Linked DNA regions of Homo sapiens: region 1 is linked to region 2. The links are contacts of gene promoters, found by promoter capture Hi-C in blood cells and fetal thymus (Javierre and others, 2016). All regions are on one chromosome and are shown on one strand. The core of a region is centred on a gene start or on the middle of the fragment in contact, and the rest is flanking DNA. Distances in the headings are between cores, read along the strand shown.

Region 1 (5,609 bases), core at 383-2,882, 130 kb after region 2:
ATGAGACTGTGATGCCTTTCGAGCACTAGAGTATCTTCTGGGCCATAGGCGGTCACTTCTCATTGCCAGCAGGAAGCATCCTACCTAGACTTAATGTGCTGTGAGCCGGCAGAGCATGGCTCTCAAATGTTATTCCAGGGTGTCAAGTAGAAGTGATTAGGCTTTGAGAGGGAAGTTCTCATGAGAGACAATGGATGAGTTTCAGCAAATGGAATGTGTAACTTCTATTCTGACTGTTCAGAGTGGTTGGTTTGTCTTTTCCTCTCCTAAAGATTTTTGTTACATTTCAGATAAGTGCAATTTCAAAAGAAAGAGCCTATGACTCTAAGCATTACTACCATGGTTTACACACTGTAATGTACACATGGCAAATGTTTGACTGCGATCTTATTTCCCCACCACTTGGTGAGCCGATGGCCACCTCATTTGACCATCAGTCAGTGAGGACTCACTTTAATACGAGCCTCAGCAAAACTTAAAAATTCATATGAATGTTGAAAAGTAACATGTTCAATTCTTACTGAGAATCTCTGTGCCAAATATCCCCTCCATCAATACTGCTAATTCTCACTGTTTCCATCCCTGGGCCCACATCCCTATCCCTGCCATCCCCATCCTTGGACTGTACATAGGCTGTGATCTCAGTAGCCTGGTAAGTCTGGAGTGTATAGAATGGCCAGTGTCAGGGTTTTCTAACACCTGAGGGATTTAAGGACATCTCTTTGCTCCTCAATCAATGTTCAGCCATTGGGCAAGGGTGGAATAACCCAATGACTATCCCTTACCCTTCCAATATAGCTTTGCACAGGATCAGCTCTGCATGGAATAGGATGGTCCCCCCAGGACTGGACCAGCTCTCAGAGTGGGTGAGGAAGAGCTTGTGCTCAGCAAGGATGCAGAGTCACACCCAACCCTGCTGCAATACCAGTCCTTCCAGTGACATGGTACACTGGCACAGCAACTCCCTGGACACTAGGAAGCCCCACATCCAGAATCTTCACCTGACGTTTCCATCTCCTGGGAATTTGTTCAGCCACTAAATACCCTACACCCCCTGGACTCCCACCAGGCCTTAACACAGGCTCTTCCCTCTCCTCAGATGCCAACCCCACCTTCCCACTTTTACCAGTCGTTAGAGTTAACCAAGACAGAGATACCCCAAATATCACTTACCTCGCTTCAGGCATCCATCACAGGAAGGACGGGGAAAGAGCAGAACACAGAGTGAGTATGAACAATGAGGATTACATGTGCAGTCGCAGAACCTCACAGACCAGCTTGGGGGAGGAGGGGGCCAGTGACAACAGTGAGCCAGAAAGTCATCAGGCATCAGGCAAGGGGAGCGGTTTGAGGTTCCGGCAGAATAAAATAAAAATTCAACAGCCCTTTGAACTACGGGGCATTCTTATTGGGAGGTACTGGGCATCGTAAGTTGGGGACAAGTGGTGGAAGGGGAGGGAAGCCTTAGCGTAGGGTTCCAGCAACGTGAAAGCATCCATCCACGGGTGCGTGGGTAAATTCCCAAAGCTTTGTTCACCTACTGCACCAGTGTTAAGTGGTGGCCTGGTACATGCAATTCATGTGATAGATCAAGACAGGAAATCTCTGAGGCACAAGCCAAAAAGGCACTCCCAGGGCAACCTGGGAGTGAGTTCTGCTCAATGGCTGGGAGGACACAGGCAGCACAGGGGAAACCATCAAGTGCTGCCCCTGTTTGAGGACCTGGTCTCTTAGGGAAAAGCTTTGGGGGTTGAAAACATGGTGCCTCCACTGCGGGGCTGAAGTCTGTGGCAAAGGGACTTGCCTTCCTGGGGCCCCAGATGGCAGTGAGACTACTTACACTTCCGGCATGGTGGCAGTGAGACAGCACCTAGGGGGCACAGAGGAATCATTCATAAGGGAAAGTGGAAACCCCTGCCCCTGCCCAGCTGGGCCTTGGGAGCCCAGCCTAGGAGACAGAGTCAGAACACAAAAGGAAGAAATCAGACACATTGGATTCCAGCAGGTCAAGATGGGACAGGGTTGCAGGGCAGGGGTCAGCTAACTACAGCCCATAAGCCTGACCTGGCTCCCAGCCTGTTTTTGCTTAAAGAATTGTAAGCTTTTTTTTTTTTTTTTTTTTTAAGAATTTGCAACAGAAACCTTATGTGAGCTACAAAGCTATCTGGCCCTTTCCAGATAAAGCTTGCCAATCCCAGTGGAGAACAGAATGGAGTCCATAGGAAATATGTTTGGAAAGTGAGAGCAGCTGGGCGCAGTGGCTCATGCCTGTAATCCCAGCACTTTGGGAGGCCAAGGCGGGCAGTTCATGAGGTAAGGAGTTCAAGACCAGCCTGGCCAATATGGTCAAACCCCGTCTCTACTAATGATACAAAAATTAGCCAGCATGGTGGTGCACGCCTATAGTCCCAGCTACTCAGGAGGCTGAGGCAGAAGAATTGCTTGAACCCAGGAGGCGGAGGTTACAGTGAGCCGAGATCGCACCACTGCACTCCAGCCTGGGTAACAGAATGAGTCTCCTTCTCAAAAAAAAAAAAAAAAAAATAAGTGAGAGTGTAGCTCACTCATGAGGGCCTTGAAGGACAGGCTGAGTTTAGACTTTATCCTGTGGAATAAGGGTGGTCATTGAAGGGCTCAGAGAGAGGAAGGCCTAGAAAGTGAATGAGCAGAGTGGATGCTGGAAAACGGGTAGCTGCCACATGGCACAACTCCATCCACAGATGGCAATGCAACTGGCACCTCCAGGGTGGGGCAGTGGGAGGCCTTGAGTGGGAGAGAATAAGCCGCAAGGCAGGGCAAATCCCGTGTTCACCCTAGTCTGTCTTTCCCCTCTCTGGGTTGGTTTTCCTCTCTGCAAAATTAGGGGTTAAATCAGTGAGTTTCCTCTTGATGTTTATTATTAATAATAAGTAATTAAAATAATATTTAATTAATATTATTTGGTTGAATCCTTTGTCCTAACCAAATCTTACTTGGAAGTAAAATAAATTCAATCAGTAAAAGCAAAATGGCATTTTGCCTATCAGAAGGTGGAGGGTGGGAGGAGGGAGAGGATCAGGAAAAATAACTAATGGGTACGTCTCTCATACCTGAGTGATGAAATAATTGATACAACAAACCTCCATGACACATGTTTACCTGTGTAACGAACCCACACATCCTGCACATGTACCCCGAACTTAAAAAAAAGTCAAACAAACAAAAAGAGCCAAATGGCACTGGTTGAAGGGGGCTCCCATAGCAGCCCTCTGGTCTTCTGTGAGGACACTTGGCTGTGGAATACAATTTGAAGCCCCCTGACCAGGTGATCCTGGGGCCCAGGCCAAAGAGGGGGTCCGTGAGGCTGCAGAGGGAGATGTTCCAAAACCAGACATAATTCACCGTCTTGCCTGGGCCTGGACACAGGGCATTCCAATGCAGGGGAAGGGAGGAACTGTGCAAAAGCTCAGGGAAAGGAAGGGGACAGCTGAGGTGGAGAGCAGGTGTGCAGGGGCGCACAGGAGCCCTGAGCCAGGCTGTGAAATGAAGGATGGGAGAGCCTAGTGTGTGTGGAGTGGGCAGGCATGGAGCTCGGGGGCAGGAGTTTGGACTTGGTTCAAGAACCTTGTTGTGGGGTCTGGGAAGTGGGGAATTAAAAGACACTTGTAAAGTGCCTGCCAATAATTGTATCCCAGAGCCACCCCTTCCTCTGCCCTAATTCTCTCCTTTCCCTTTGTGCCCATGAAGCACTATCCCAACCCCAATGAACACAGCTTTGGCCACCTCCCCTGAATCTCCCAACGGGTCAGAAAGCCTTCTGGGCCTCCCTCCACCTCTGCCTCCGCCACCAGGGGAGGGTAAGGCTGGGGTGGAGGAGGTGGAGGTGTAGTGTGACCCCAGAGTCTCAGCTGTCATGCTGGGGCACAGAGGGAGGGGTATGGAGACAATCCATGAATTCCTGAGATGCTTGGCTGGTATTAGATTTTATGGGCAGCTGCTTATTCTTAGGGCTCTGCTTCTCCAAAGACACTGAGGAAGTCCAAAGGAAACACCAGCTGGCGAAGAGCCACCTCCAGGCCCATCTGTCCATCATCAGCCTCCAGGAATGCCAGTGTCCAGAGGGCACCAGGTCTGCGTCTGTCTCCCTGGGATGTGCCTTGTCCTTGGTGGGCATTTGGCAGTGATCATGCCTCCCTGTCTCCCTCAGAGATCCAACTGTCCCCATTGTGGGGCCCTACCTTCCAAGGCCGGTTTACACCTCCTGCCAAGCTCCGGGGCCTGCCCCCAGCCTGCCTCACTGACAAATGCCAGACCAAGGGGTCCCACGTCAGGCAAGAGGCCTCAGCCTGTGCTCTGACACCCCTCAGACGGGGGCCCTTGCCAGGCTCTGTGGAAGACAAGCGAGGACTGATAAGTCAGGATGAAGATAGCAGCCACTGGAAGGCTTGGAGAGCCAGGATTCCATCTCCTCTACAAGTAGCAAGCAAGGAGATAATGAGAAAATCCTCCCCCCGAGGGGGGGAGCAAAGAGTCTCTGGTGGTTGCCTCAGAGCTGGGCTTTCCCTTCCTTGAGGCTTTGCAGCGTGGAAGGGACTATCCGCTAGACTATGAGATTGAGTCTGTGTGTGTAAGTGTGTGTAAGTGACTGTGTGTGAGAGTGTGAGTGTGAGAGAGAGAGCGTGTATATGTAGGGGAAAGAACTGATCTCTTTGCACACCCAATGATCACGTCCACAAGTATCTAGTTAGGCTCATGTGCTTCCCCCTGCTCCCCGCCCCCTGACCTTGGACCCCCATTCAAGGGCATCCCTGTCTTCCTTGACTGACGGTTAACACTCCCAAGTGCATGGCGCTGGGCTGCCCCCATCTTGAGTTCTGAACAGCAAAGCCTAATCTCAGAGCTGCTGTGGGACTGTGACTCCCAAACCTGGTGGCAGGTGCTGCCTTCAGCCCCCACCTGAGTCAGGGACCGCCACACGGCCCCCTGCCCCAAGCCTTGGGTTACCCTGTAGATACTGCCCTGGCTTATGTGTTCACTGGCTCCTGTGCCCCAACCCAAAATGCCGCCACCATTGCCTTCCTCCAAGAGGACCCCCAGTATCTACTGCTGCTTCTCAGAGCCAGGAGCTCTGAGCAGGAGCAGTCAAGAGGGGTTGCCGGTCTGCCCTCCTCTGCTCTTGTGCTACACTACAGAGGGATAGGCAAAGGGAGCTAACAGCGTCGCTCAGAGACAAAGAACACAGAAGCAAGATGGTTTCCTTGGCCAGCAGGGAGCTCTGGCCCTGCCTTCTAGGCTCCCTGGGAGTCCTGCGCGTCAGGCACCCTCCTTCTCTTCCGCTGCAGGCATTGCTGACTTTGAGCACTCACCCTGGCTCTCTGATCCCAGGGCCACCCCTTCCCCTGGGTGCGCTCTCCCTCCCACACTCTGCTGGGCATCCTGTGTGAAAACATCATCCCTTAGGCTCTGCCCTGGGGCTCCTAAGGAACCTCACGGAAGATTCTGCTCCTTGCTCACAGCCTCCAAATGGCCAGGAAAAAGTTTCACCTCTCACAACAGTTTTGCAGGAGAGATGCCATTCTGTGGGACAAAATGCTGTGGGAGTATTTTAGGAATGTTCTACCAACAAACCA
Region 2 (5,588 bases), core at 1,704-4,203:
TTTAGGAGTGTTAGCCTCCTTGCTGGTTGATTTCTGAGACAGGCCCCACATAGGGTGGGGCTCAGGCAGGCAGAAGAGAGAGAGAGATTATGGAAATAGCATTGGCCTGCTGGCTCAAAACCATATACCTGAGCCCCAAACCAATCCTCCCAGCCTGAGTATATCTCCCTCACCGTGGCCCAGAATGTGTAACCTGACTTCTCTTTCCTCTCCTCCTCTGTCAGAAGGGCCTGATTCAAGATGTCCTGCCCTACAAATCCCCACAATCGACAGAATTATAGAATGTTGGGGCTAGAGTGGAGTTTAGGAGCCACGAAGTTTACCCGCTCTCTTTGTAGATTGGTGCAAGGGACGGAGGAAGGCACTTGTCTAACATGAAGCTAGTTAGTGACACAACTAGATCAGGAACCCAGCTGGCCTGACTTTCGTGCCCTGTGATGGGAATGGATGCTGTTAAAATACCTATCCAGAGAAGGATCTGCTTGTCACAGAGAAATCTCGAGGCGGCAGCCTGGCACTGCCACTGAGTGTCCAGCTCTGGATTGCAGTTGCCTTGTCTGCCTGTTGCCAGCTGGGTGGCCTCATGGAACTTCAGTTACCTCATCTGAAAAAGAAGGGTGATGGTGCCCACCTCATAGGGTCATTGTAAGGATTTAAATGATGTGGTTCGTGTACAGGGCTCAGAACAATGCCTGGTTGGTAGGCATGGTGTTTGGAGGAGCATAGTAAATGCTATTGCTATCAATATGTCAAAATAATGTCAATATTAACATAGTAGAGAAGTAGCTAGAAAAACTGAACTTCATACCTGGAAACAATTTTAAAGATAATCAGTTCTGCTTCCACGGACTTGCCTTTTATAGGAAGATGAGCTACTCTAATCCCCTCCTTCAGGGCCCTTCTATATCCTAGAATAGGAAAATTATCGTTATTTAAAGATGTAATTAACATTTATTATGGCTAGCATATTAGGTTTTAGATAGGCCAAATGTGTGATACAATAGAATTGTATTTTTATATGCTGCTGTGTATACTTTACAGTACATTGGGGCCCTTATATAATCGGTGTGCACTGTACTTTAATGTCCATTTTATAGGACTTTTATAAGGGAAGCTGGATGATGTGGTGGAATGAGCACTGTGCCAGGAGTCACAAGGCCTGGTTAGGATGCAGGCTTTGCCACATATTAACTGGGGCATTGCAAGCAAGCTACCTCCTCTCCTAATCAGTGAAATGCAGTGCTTGGCTGGATGAAGTCCAAGGCTCTGTCCAGTCCTGGCGGTCTATGGCTAGAGGCAGAATCTTACAATATGAAGTGATAATAGAGGTTTACAGGTATTTTGTACACATCTATGACATATTTTTTATCACATCTCTGGTTTACTTGAGGTTAAGTTCTTAGGAACAGCGCCCTCAATAATAAAACTGTTTCTATTGGAAACTATAATCTGCTTTACAATAATCTGCTCTGCAAATTGCTACTAGGAATACCTTCCTTGGGAAAGCTGGGGCTCCCCGCATGTAACACCCACATCTCAGGAGTTGCGTGAGTGACCTTCATGTACATGGTCCCTGAGACAGTCATTCAGTCTTCTTGATCCTTCCTCGACATAAAATTCCCAAAAAGAATAGATTTCTGATTGTCCTTTCCTCTGTAGATTAGAAGAGCAAACTAAAAGTAAAATATGTGAGCTGTGAGCGGCAGCCTCAAATGACAGCAAGAGTGACGGCTGTGATAGTGTCACACACTGGTGGAGGCCCCAAAACTAAGAAACTGACCGGACAGCACGACTACACAGTTCAGTAATGGATGTCCAGAATGAGAAACCCAGGGCATCAAGAAGTACAGCAAATATGTTCAGTGTTGTTTGCTTTAGGAGGCAAACAGAATGCGATACCTTTTAGAAAGATTTCCATCAAAGTAAATACTTAAAAAAAAAAAAAAACACTCAGCTCCTGTTACACACCAAATTCACTGATGTGGGCTCCCTCCACGCCTGGAGAGGATGCTACATGAATAAAGCTTCACTGCACATGTGTCCCCAGGGGTGAGTGTATATAGGGGAATGCACACAGTGGTCCCAGAATAATAAGTCCAGAGTGAAATTTCAGGGTAAAGCAGCTTTTCAATTTTTCAGTGAGGATCTGGTTAGGATCCGAGTTAGATTTAATTTACCTTAAATTAACTAGCATTCACGTATTCACCTATTTAAAATATTTTTTATTAAGCGCCTAATATTATGTGTGCCAGGCATTGTTTTAGAGGTTATAGTGGAGTTTCAGAGAGGATCCGCTGTTCACGTGGTGTTTTACCGGGGTATACTCATGAACAACAAATAACCACCGGTTTTACCAAGGCATACCCACTGTGTGGTCTGATATCCCAAGTCTGCTCCTTGATGTGGCCTTACTGCCCCTACCCCACTTTCTTCAGAGGAAGCTCCTTTAGAGTAGACTGGGTTACCCCCATAAGATGGAGCACTCCTTTGGAGCAAGAGCTATGGTTCTGCCATCAGCCCGGGAGCCTCCACCGCCGGGGTTGGTCTCTGCTATGACCTCAGTACAGAGGGAGATGGACGCCTGGCTCTCCTGGGCAGCCTGGTCAAGAAAGACTCCTTTCTTTCCTAGAGAGAGGTCTCCCTCGGTTCCTGAGCTGAGCACATGCTTTCTCAGTGAGCCGGCAGAACAGGACAGAGGGGCGTCTCCCTGGGGCCTCAAGGCTTGCGACGTTTCTTGCTCATGGGGAGAGGGAAGGGAGAGAAAAAAAAGAGCGAGCAGGAAGGCGCCCAGCGTCCCACACAGGGGACTCGCAGCCCTGCCCCCAAGAGCGCTGGCTCCGCAGCAGCAGTGCCCTGCAGCTCCGCGTCTGAGCAGCAGCAGCGCGCGGCCCGGTGGAGTGGGTGGTGCAGGGCAGGGGTGGTATATCCTGTCTGACGGAGGGCGGGCCTCGCCAGTGCCAGAGAGGGACGAACCAGGGTGGAAGCGCCAGGAGCAGCTGCAGGGAGCCCTCACGCGGACCACGCACTCTATGGCCGTAGGGAGCCGCTGAGAGCGAGAAGAGCACGCTCCTGCCCGCCCGCTGCACCGCACCTCGCCTCGCCTCTCTGCTCTCCTAGGCCCCGGCCGCGCGCCACCCGCCTCCCGCCACCATGAACCACTCGCCGCTCAAGACCGCCTTGGCGTACGAATGCTTCCAGGACCAGGACAACTCCACGTTGGCTTTGCCGTCGGACCAAAAGATGAAAACAGGCACGTCTGGCAGGCAGCGCGTGCAGGAGCAGGTGATGATGACCGTCAAGCGGCAGAAGTCCAAGTCTTCCCAGTCGTCCACCCTGAGCCACTCCAATCGAGGTAAAGGCTCGGCCCCCGCGTGGTCCGTGCGCCCCTTTCCAGAGCACCCTGGCCCAGTGGCGGGGACCAAGAGACGCACGCATCCCCGGGGATGAGGGGAGGCGAGGGGCTGCCGGCCCCAGGCAGGGTCTACGCACCTAGTGCGAGCAGCCGAGCTCCCAGCCGGTTCTGAGCTGGTGTAAACGCGACCCGAGGCTGGCTCGACGGCCCCGCGAGCTCGATGGCGCGCTAGTGGGCAAGGATGGGTGATTCACCGGGACACAGCCAGGAGCATGTCCCAGCGTGCCAGGAGGTTGAGGATCCCCCGCGAGCGGTTCTCCTGTCCCTGAGCCCTGGGTCTGGACGGCTTTCTCTTTCGGATGCTGCTCTAGGGATCTGCCCTGCATCCTGTCTGGCCCCGGCTGTCCTGGGGCCCATGGTCCCCGCGCTCGCAAACGGTTGTGGGCCACCCTTCACCCTTCCTGGGCTTGATCTCCTGGCCTTCAGCTGGAGGCCGATGCCCAGCGTCCAGGCCAAGGGGAACCCCAGTCCCTGTGGGGCCGCGCATGAGTATCCGCGAGCGGGGTGAGGGAGTCGCTGAGACAGGAGTGCAGCTCAGGAGAGGCGCTGCGGGACGGGAAAGTGGCACAGGGAGCAGGGACGAGGGCCTGGAACTCCAGGGCACTTTATCGAGAGCCTCCTGAAAGAGGCTAGCCTAGTTGGAAGGCCGCCCCAGGGCCAGTGGGTCCCTTGACGACAGGGAAGGGGGTCAGGGATGCTTTCTTTCCCGAATAGCCAATGCAGAAATCCTCTTTCCCACTGGATTCTTCTTACCCCACCCAGCTTAGGTAGAAACAAGTGTCTCATGGGGAGAGTACGGAATGGCAGGTTGGAAATCCCCCCGGGCCCCAGGGAGACCTCCAGCTGAACCCTCACGGGCACTTTTCCAAGCTGGATCCCGGGCCTGGCACCCCCTCCTCCAGCCTCTGAGAGGCCAGATCCCATGACTGGGGGAACCTGGGAGAAAGGGGCAGCACCCAGGAAACTCAAGGAGGAAGGGGCAGTACCTGACAGGGGAGAGCTTATAGACCAAGTAAACACTTTGATACAAAGGATGCCTGGTAAGAATTACACACAAGTGAGCAAAGATTCCACTTGTTTATTTATTTACTTATTTTATTTAGCTAAGTTTAGTAAAATGCTAATAAGACTTTACCCATTACCAAACAGTACAGGTCAACCAAGACTTATGTATTAAGACAGGCCTTAGGAGAGAGTGAGGGGCAGGGGGTAATAAGGTGGAAGGAGACAAAAGAAACCGACCCTGGCCCTTCCACCACACACACACACACACACACACACACACACACACACACACACACCTCACACTTCCTTCTACCTGTGGCTTCTGTCCCCCCACCTACTCCCTAGCCCCCATTCCTGAGTGGCCCCTTGTAGAGCCGAGGGAAGGAAAATGGCCGGCAGAGGACTTCCTGGGCCCCAGACCTAAAGGCCTTTGCTTCTCTGTGTGCTCTTTGCCTTTGTGTGGGCTCCAGGCTCCTCTCGTCACATTTCCACTCAAGATCATGCCACCTCCAGAGCACTTGCCTCCTTCCCTTTTATTTGGTGCCTTGGTAGGTGCCTCCTAGCCTCTTTAGAATTAGGTTTGGAATAACAAAGTGCCCCCATTTCTGGCTACAGCCCAGAGCACAGCTCAACCTACTCTCCTCTCTGCACAAGACTTGGCTGTCCCCTTCCCACTCCCACTCCATCCCAGCCTGAGCTCTTGGCTCACAACTCCAGAAAACTCAAACCGGCCCTGGGTGCCCCAAGGACCCCTTTTTCCTCCTACCTATCGGGATATTGGCTGAGTGTCTGTCAGCAAGAAGTGCACTTTCTGGGCTTGGTCTTTGTGGGGAACTTCTATCTGATAAGGTCTCCTTTGTTCCCTCTTTGTTTTTCCTCCCAAGGTCCCCCAGGGGGCTTCACTGGGGGAGGGTTGATGCTGATGGCTACCTCTCCAGAAACTCCAAGGTCTAGCCCTGTGGGCGTGTCCCCTCTACCCTCAGACTCTGCGGAGGTTCCTAAAGGAGGCTGCAGAGGCATCCTTGCTGGAAGAGGCGGTTTGGTCACTTGGAGCTGGTGTTTCTGGTTTATCTGGCTTAGTTTTCATCAGATTTCCTTGTCTTCTCCATCAGAAACACCCAAACGTCCCCTATTTGCTCTGCGGCCACCTCTACTCACTCTGCTCCCTCTT

The links. Contacts are between HindIII fragments. The CHiCAGO score rates a contact against its expected background, and 5 or more counts as called.
Region 1: a fragment that was not itself captured here is called in contact with the fragment with the promoter of PKP1 in region 2 in 1 of 17 cell types (fetal thymus); the score reaches 5.1 in fetal thymus.

What each region holds. Positions count from the first base shown.
Region 1 is chr1:201,415,943-201,421,551 of GRCh38, forward strand. It overlaps TNNI1 (troponin I1, slow skeletal type), which reads right to left. Exons shown (of 9, transcript NM_003281.4): 2 at 1,841-1,870; 3 at 1,174-1,177. The coding sequence starts at 1,851. Among named protein-coding and RNA genes, the nearest start is that of TNNI1, 3.0 kb to the right of the region's middle. The HindIII fragment of the contact is 214 bases long and covers 1,526-1,739 here.
Region 2 is chr1:201,280,553-201,286,140 of GRCh38, forward strand. It overlaps PKP1 (plakophilin 1), which reads left to right and starts at 2,954. Exons shown (of 14, transcript NM_001005337.3): 1 at 2,954-3,352. The coding sequence starts at 3,151. RefSeq lists an enhancer at 2,795-3,324. The HindIII fragment of the contact is 6,778 bases long and covers 2,023-5,588 here.